Regions from separate parts of the Homo sapiens genome. Here region 1 is linked to region 2. The links are contacts of gene promoters, found by promoter capture Hi-C in blood cells and fetal thymus (Javierre and others, 2016). All regions are on one chromosome and are shown on one strand. The core of a region is centred on a gene start or on the middle of the fragment in contact, and the rest is flanking DNA. Distances in the headings are between cores, read along the strand shown.

What was found. Contacts are between HindIII fragments. The CHiCAGO score rates a contact against its expected background, and 5 or more counts as called.
Region 1: a fragment that was not itself captured here is called in contact with the fragment with the promoter of SPMIP3 in region 2 in 4 of 17 cell types (total B cells, total CD4 T cells, activated CD4 T cells and 1 more); the score reaches 7.0 in total B cells.

Annotation. Positions count from the first base shown.
Region 1 is chr1:243,386,938-243,390,958 of GRCh38, forward strand. All of the region lies in intron 13 of SDCCAG8 (SHH signaling and ciliogenesis regulator SDCCAG8), which reads left to right. Among named protein-coding and RNA genes, the nearest start is that of MIR4677, 43 kb to the left of the region's middle. The HindIII fragment of the contact is 2,369 bases long and covers 385-2,753 here.
Region 2 is chr1:244,349,972-244,353,884 of GRCh38, forward strand. SPMIP3 (sperm microtubule inner protein 3) reads left to right here and starts at 2,664. Exons shown (of 5, transcript NM_001012970.3): 1 at 2,664-2,763. RefSeq lists an enhancer at 614-673. The HindIII fragment of the contact is 3,357 bases long and covers 1,108-3,913 here.

The DNA of each region.
Region 1 (4,021 bases), core at 319-2,818, 960 kb before region 2:
CTACTTTACTCCCTTACTTAATTTTCACCCAAGAAGAAAGAGAGGCTTTTATTAAAAAGTAGAAATTTTTCAAGTATTTATTTTTGACATGTCCAAATATCTGTAAAGAGCTATAGGTATCACCTCGGAGGTTAAGAATGTATTCATCTTAGGCCAGGGGCGGTGGCTTATGCCGCTCATATGACTACCATTTATACACACGTGGTTGGGTTAATTTACGATATGGCTGAATAAAGCAACCACTTCTTACCGTTTATGTGATTCTTATTAACTGCTTACTGAGACATTCTTTTCCATACCTTTTGCCCATGTACTGAAACACATTTTTTTAAATCCTGCATTTTTTTTTTCTTGTATCTGATCTTGAGGGGAACTACTGCAGGAAGCTTTCTTTTGTTTATTATCCAGAGAATTTAGAACTCGGATTGCCCTAAGTACAAAACCTTAAAAATTCTTATTTCTCCTTTTACATAAATGATCTTTTTAATAATATGTATGTACTTCAAAGAATTTCTCAGAGCAGGAATCTAAGTGAGAGTCCACCAAACAGGTATTATACTGTGACCTACTTTTGTGATCCAGATGGGAAGATCTGACCTGTGACCTAGAGAGACAGCAACTTGACCTATAGGATTTGTGTCTTTTTGAAAGTGAGAAAAGGGTACAGCAGAGGAGTCACTAGGTTAACCTGTTATGATGGATAGATCATGTGGGGAGAGTGATAGAGGCTGCCTTTCCAGGGCTTTCAGTTTCCACATAGTAACTAGTACAGTTACTTATTTGTTTCTTTAATTTGAAGCAAGAGTCTTGCTCTGTTGCCCAGCCTGCAGTGCAGTGGTGTGGTCTTGGCTCACTACAACCTCTGCCTCCCAGGTCCAAGCAATTCTCGTGTCTCACCCTCCCAAGTAGCTGGGATTACAGGTAGGCACCACCATGCCTGGCTAATTTTTGTATTTTTAGTAGAGACGGGGTTTCACCATGTTGGCCAGACTGGTCTCAAACTCCTGACCTCTGGTGATCTGCCTGCCTTAGCCTCCCAAAGTGCTAGGATTACAGGTGTGAGCCACTGTGCCCGGCCTCTAGTACAGATATTTTCTTGAAATTAATTGTTTGACCTCCCAGCCTATCCATACGAGTCAGGACTTTTTGGGTGAACTGAAATCCAAAAAGGAGAAATTGATAAATTTTTATAACTAGACCATGTACAATCCAGGTGCAGCTGGACTCAGGGTTTCCTGGAGCCAGCATGCTATCATATTCTAACTTTCCAGAACAGGGCTCAATTTCTATCTGAATTTTGCTAATTCTTTCAGATTCTTTCATACCATGAAGTAAAACATCTTTCATTCTGAAATTGATGATAAAGGAAATACCTTTGATTTCAAACTGTAAGAATGTGACTTCCTAGCTCCTTCACTTCCAATTTCAAAACCTTTGGTTAGGATCACCCTTGGGCACACACACGCACTTTTGGGTGCTGTGGCTGGTAGCCTCTTCAGAACCACATGGAATAAGGGAAGAAAGTTTCACTAAGTAAGGGGAAGTGCTCTTACTAGGGGAAAGGTGTCAGGGATCCTGGGTGAGTAAAACACCAAGTATCTGCACTGTTGCCCTTGTTGTCTTTTTAAAAATATAATCCCTGGTCAGGTGCCATGGCTCATGCCTGTAATCCCAGCACCTTGGGAGGCCAAGGTGGGAGGATCACTTGAGGCCAGGAGGTCAAGACCAGTCTGAGCAACATAATGAGACCCCAGCTCTACCAAAAAAAAAAAAAAAAAATTAAAAAATTAGCCAGGCATGGTTGTGCATGCCTGTAGTCCTAGCTATTTGGGAGGCTACATGGTGGTGCGCGCCTGGGTCCTGGCTACTTGGGAGGCTACGTGGTGGTGCGTGCCTGGGTCCTGGCTATTTGGGAGGCTACATGGTGGTGCATGCCTGAGTCCTGGTTATTTGGGAGGCTACGTGGTGGTGCGTGCCTGAGTCCTGGCTATTTGGGAAGCTACGTGGTGGTGCGTGCCTGAGTCCTGGCTATTTGGGAGGCTACGTGGTGGTGCGTGCCTGAGTCCTGGCTATTTGGGAGGCTACGTGGTGGTGCGTGCCTGTAGTCCTGGCTACTTGGGAAGACTGCTTGAGCCTGGGAGTTTAAGGCTACAGTGAGCTTTGATTGCCATCGCACTCCAGCCTGGGCGACAGAGCGAGACTCTGTCCCCCCTCCCCCCCCCAAAAAAAAAATAATAAATAAAAATGCAAGTCCTGATTTTTCCTCTAAGAAATGGTTTCAAGTGGAGAGAGGGGAGTGAAGTGCACATTTTTGTCCATGTATGTTGGAAAATGATATTCTCCATTGTCAACATGTGATAAGTCCAAAGAGGCATCATCAGTTCTTCACAACAACAGGGTCTCTTTGTTGTTTTACTTAGAAAACTCTTAGAATATAAAAAGAAAGAAGCACAGCTAAATCTCTAGCATGCACATGTATTGTGCTTGGTTTCTGCATAGTGCTGTTCCAGCTGTGGCCCATGATGGCTGCTTGTTAGTGTCTATGGCAAGATAAGTACCGGAATCTACAGAAGTATTTGGCAAATTTTATATCAATTTTAAATTGTCACAATTTTCAAGCGCATGATCAATGAGCTTTTTTTGGGGGAGTATCTTTTAAATTTTTTTCTAGTAATTCATTTTTATTGTGTTTTAAAAAACTATTTGCAAAAGATTAGAAATTAAAACAAATATGCTGATCATTTACCACAAGAAGCTTGAGATGCTATGCTTCTCACTGCTTCCAGCAAGCCTAAGAAAAAACAGTCCTTTATAGATGAGGAAGCCGAGCCTCCGAAGGGGAAGCTTGAGGTTGGGCATCCAGGAGGGAGGAGAGTAGGCAGGGGATGAAGGGCAAAAGCTTGTTTCAAACTGAGATAGAAACACTTTTGGTGTTGTAAAATCTCAGCACCCAGACCAGGAAGCAGGTCTCTTTCATCTCTGTGCCCCCAGCACCAAGTCAGGCACTGGGTGTTTAGCAGATTTTCTATAAACATTGAGTAAAGTTCCCTTTGCTCTTTATTATTGGGAAAATTAAAACAAAAAGTTGGGGGGAACTCATCTTAAGATAACAACAAGCTTAGGTCAAAAAGCCAAACTCATTATCTGTTTATTTGAAGAGGATATTATAACATTGATGTATATTCTTGCTATTTTACAGTGAACTTTATCTTTTTTTTCCTCCTGAGTTTTATTCAAGAATTTTTAGCCTAAAGTTTCCATTTCAAAGTTAAGCTCATTTTTTTCTTGTACTCCTTTCATGAATAAATTAAGCAGAGAATGTGTCAAAAATAATTTTAAATGGATATATGTGCAACCAACATCTTCAAGGCTTGAAATAGATGGCCTTGGTGCTGTTTTAAATTGCGTCCTCTTTTCCTTCCCCCACCCAGTATCAGAGAAAACAGGCTGTCAGAAAGCCAGAAAAGAAAAGGCATTTCATTTTGCTCTGGTGGACACCACACTGCCTGAGCCTGCTCTGCTCCACCTGTTTGAAGGGCTAAGAACCCTGGTCTCAGTGTGGCCCGGGGCGGGAGAGGTTCGAAAGTCAGGCAGTGCCAGGAAATGTGTGTTTGCAGGTTCTGCTTAACGTTCCCTGGCTCGCTCCTCTCAGTTCTGTGAAGCCCAAATGTGAATGCAATGAAAATCTCCACTGGGGATGCACTCATCTCCCCTGCCACATAGGCCCACAGCCTGGAGCATGGTGGCAGCGGCAGCCAACTCATTTCCTGAAGAAGCCCAGAGGAAACCGAGAATGTATTGCCCACACCACTTGCCTGACTCAACAACAATGAGCATCAGGTTCAATGAAAATAGGAAAGAAAAAGCAAAAACATAGAATTGTTCTCATAGTAGCCCTAAGCCAGAGTATGTCTCTAAAAGAAAGTTCTGCTCTCCAATATTATTTTTAAAGTAAAAGGAATATAACAAAAGCCCATCACCTTGATGTTTAATTTCTTCCGGTAAATTTCTAAAATTAATT
Region 2 (3,913 bases), core at 1,414-3,913:
AAACTCAGCCATGATGTTGGCAGAGCAGATTTGCCAGGTTCTTCTCGGGGGCCCCACTACCCTTATATTTAAATCCTTAGTCTAATTCTCATCTTTTCCTGCCCCCCTGCTGCAGGAAATGAGAGCCCCTCTGTATGCTGCAAAGGGGGAGCCCTGCTTTCACACTTTGCCTAAATTAATGATGATGTTTACCGTCTTACTGCAAAGCATAGATTGTACTCATCAGGAACCAGCCAGTTTCATTACTCTCATAATGACTTCTCCAACCTCTCAAATGCCTGAGAAACTGCACCTGCCAGTTGCTTCCTCCTCCTCCTACTCTGTCCTTTTGTGCTGTAAGTGAAACTTTTTTTTTTTTTTTTTTGAAACGGAGTTTTGCTCTTGTTGCCCAGGCTGGAGTGCAATGGCTCGATCTCGGCTCACTGCAAGCTCTGCCTCCCGGATTCAAGCGATTCTCCTGCCTCAGCCTTCCGAGTAGCTGGGATTACAGGCATGCGCCACCACGCCCGGCTAATTCTGTATTTTTAGTAGAGACGGGGGTTTCACCATGTTGGCCGGGCTGGTCTCGAACTCCCGACCTCAGGTGATCCGCCCGCCTTGACCTCCCAAAGTGCTGGGATTACAGGCGTGAGCCACCACGCCCGGCTTAAGTGAAAGTTTTAACACTTGCTTCCCTACAGAATGCCAGGGGCTAGCCCTACTCCACCTCCCACCGGTAAGGAGGACTTTACTGATAGCCTGCTGGTGTGACCTGCACGTATATATCCAGATGGCCTGAAGTAACTGAAGAATCACAGAGGAAGTGAAATTTAAATGGCCTGTTCCTGCCTTAACTGATGACATTCCACTACAAAAGAAGTGAAAATGGCCGGTCCTTGCCTTAACCGATGACATTACCTTGTGAAATTCCTCCTCCTGGCTCATCCTGGCTCAAAAAGCTCCCCCACGGAGCACCTTGTCACCCCCACTCCTGCCCGCCAGAGAACAACCCCCCTTTGACTGTAATTTTCCTTTACCTACCCAAATCTTATAAAACGGCCTCACCCCTATCTCCCCTTTGCTGACTCTCTTTTCGGACTCAGACGGCCTGCACCCAGCTGATTAAAAAGCTTTATCGCTCACACAAAGCCTGTTTGGTTGTCTCTTCACACGAACGCGAGTGAAACTTTCTTCTTTGTACTTTCTGTTATATTGCCAGGTATGTCTTACGTAAAGAACATGGGGATTTTTTGTTCATTTTTTTTCCTCAGTGAAGAATACTGGTTATTACTCTTAAAACGCCTTTGACGTCAAATAGCTGGATTCAAATCATAGATTCATTACGGCCTCGTTGTGTGACTGTTAGGCAAGTTCCGTAGCTTCTTCTCTTAGCCTTCATTTCAAATAGAAATACTTCATTTTCAAAAGAGAATCTCCTTCCATGGTGGTGGTGGAGATTCTAGATGGTGTGTGTCTAATAGCTAAAAAAACGTGTGGTGCTCACTCAACAAATCAAACCAATTTATCCTTTCTCTTAGTGTGGTTCCAGTTTGTTGCTTCTGTCCTCATATATTTATTTAAGTTTTCCCTAGCTTATCTGCTTTCAACAAAATGCTGTCACCAAGACTCTGTCATTACATTATTTTATGCCTGTTCCATGTAGGTTAAGCTCCCAGCAGGAACCCAGCCTGGCCCCTGGTCTCTCCTGAGTGCCTTCTGGAATCTTATGGAAATATTTTACATTCTAACCTGCAAACTGTATATAAGTGAGAAGTGTCCCTGTTTCCAGGACAACCTACTGTAGATAATGCCAGTGTTGGCTGGGTGTGGTGGCTCACGCCTGTAATCCCAGCACTTTGGGAGGCCGAGGCGGGAGGATCATGAGGTCAGGAGATCGAGACCATCCTGGCCGTGGTGAAACCCCGTCTCTACTAATATACAGAAACTTAGCCGGGCGTGGTGGCACGCGCCTGTAGTCCCAGCTACTCAGGAGGCTGAGGCAGGGGAATCGCTTGAATCCGGGAGGCAGAGCTTGCAGTGAGCCGAGATTGTGGCACTGTACTCCAGCCTGGGCAACAGAGACTCCATCACAAAAAAAAAAAAAGAAAAAAAAATGCCAGTGTTTCGTTTTGGTTTGGTTTGGTTTTGACAGAGGTTGGTCAGAATAAATATTTTTGCCACTCTCTTCTTCTCAGGTTATGGCTTGCTTCTATATAGTGGTGCTGTTGTGATACTCCATGGATTGGTTTGCAGCATATTTTTAAATAATTAAAATTATCCTTTGATACCTGCAAAGGAGCAGGTTGGAGCCTGACCTAACCTTGGACAAGGCGGGGCTGGCCTCATCTGCCCCTCGTGCCAAACCATCCTTCCTCAATTCCAGCTTGCAAAGGGCAGGACTCCTCAGTGTGGCACCACCCAGATTTTCACCTTACGTTGTCCTTGGGACAATCTTTACAGGAAAGCAAGCTCTAGTGATTAGATAGCCTGGTTATTTGCCTACATGATTTTCCTTTTCACAGTAATTTTTGCCCCTTCTTTCATGTGCAGCTGGTCTCTCCCTAGAGACCAAAGGAGCACTCTTTTTCTAAGCCCAGGACCTGAAAGGCATTGCCTGGCAAAACCTTGCAAGCCAGTGTGCGTCACAATACCCTTTGAATGATGTAAAGGAATCAGGCCCTGCCACTCTGCAGTTGATCCAGCAGCAGGAGGCAGCTGTACCCATCACTGTCCTCAGAGTACTTTTAAGAACAAGGAGGTCTCTGCCCACGGCAGCCCAAGCAGGTAATAGCGGTTGGTTGTTACTGCCTGTACCTCTCTCTCGCCTCATTTAGAGGTTGCATTACTAAATGGTTGACTGCATTTCAAATATTTTAGAGACAGGAACTCACAACATAAAGAAACTTCATGGCAAGCCTTTTGGTAAAGCAAAAATGTCTTTTGGAAAGTGAATACTCATCTCTCTCAACTTTGAATTCTTGTCATAGTTTTAACTCAACGTGTCTTTTTTTTCTTAGAAACGGGTACACCTATATTAAATAAGATAATTGGTTCTCTGTGATACAAGAAGACCTAGGTTTTAAAAACTGTGAACTAGATTAACAGGTTACTGAGTTAGCTGATCGATTGATTTATTCACTCATTCTGAAGTATGCATCAAGCACTCCTTGGACAGCGAACACTTTGCAAGAGAATGAGTTAGGAGAAGGACAAAGAGAGTGAAGATCGTGGCCACCAAACGAAGTGGTCCCCAACATCTAGGAGCTCACATTTTACCTGAAGAGACAAAGTGCTGTATAAAACAGATGTCTTGGCCAAGCGTGGCGGCTCACACCTATAATCCCAACACTCTGGGAGGCCGAGGTGGGAGAATCACTTGAGCCCAGGAGTTTGAGACCAGCCCGGGCAACGTAGCAAGGTCCTGTCTCTGTTTAAGAAAACAAACAACAACAACAACAACAAAAAACCCAGATGTCTCGTTGTTTGAAGAATTTCTAGAACCTTATCCAAAGCCTGGTGGAGAGTTGTCACTAATTTTTCTTAAATAATAAAATGAATAAATCAATTCAGAAACCAATAAACCAAAAAGGAAAGGACTCAGAACCAAAATGCGTAGGAGAATCTCCCAGGGGCTCTGGGAATTCACAGGAGGGAAATGGGCCATTTGAAACTCAGAAGAGAGGCCTCCTAGGGAACGTATGTAGGACCTGAACAAAGCCCTGAAGAATGGGCTTAATTTAGGCTAGAGAAGGAAAAAAGAAAGAGTATTCAGGCAGCAGAATTCATTACAGAACTGGTGAGAGTCAGGGGAGAAGGGAACCAACCTTCCTGAACTGGGAAAACTGCCTGCCTGAGAAAACAGAAGCAACAGGGGACTATCAAAGTAACTCATTGCTGCGAGCCCTCTTCTAAACAGCCTCTCATCGCACAGGCT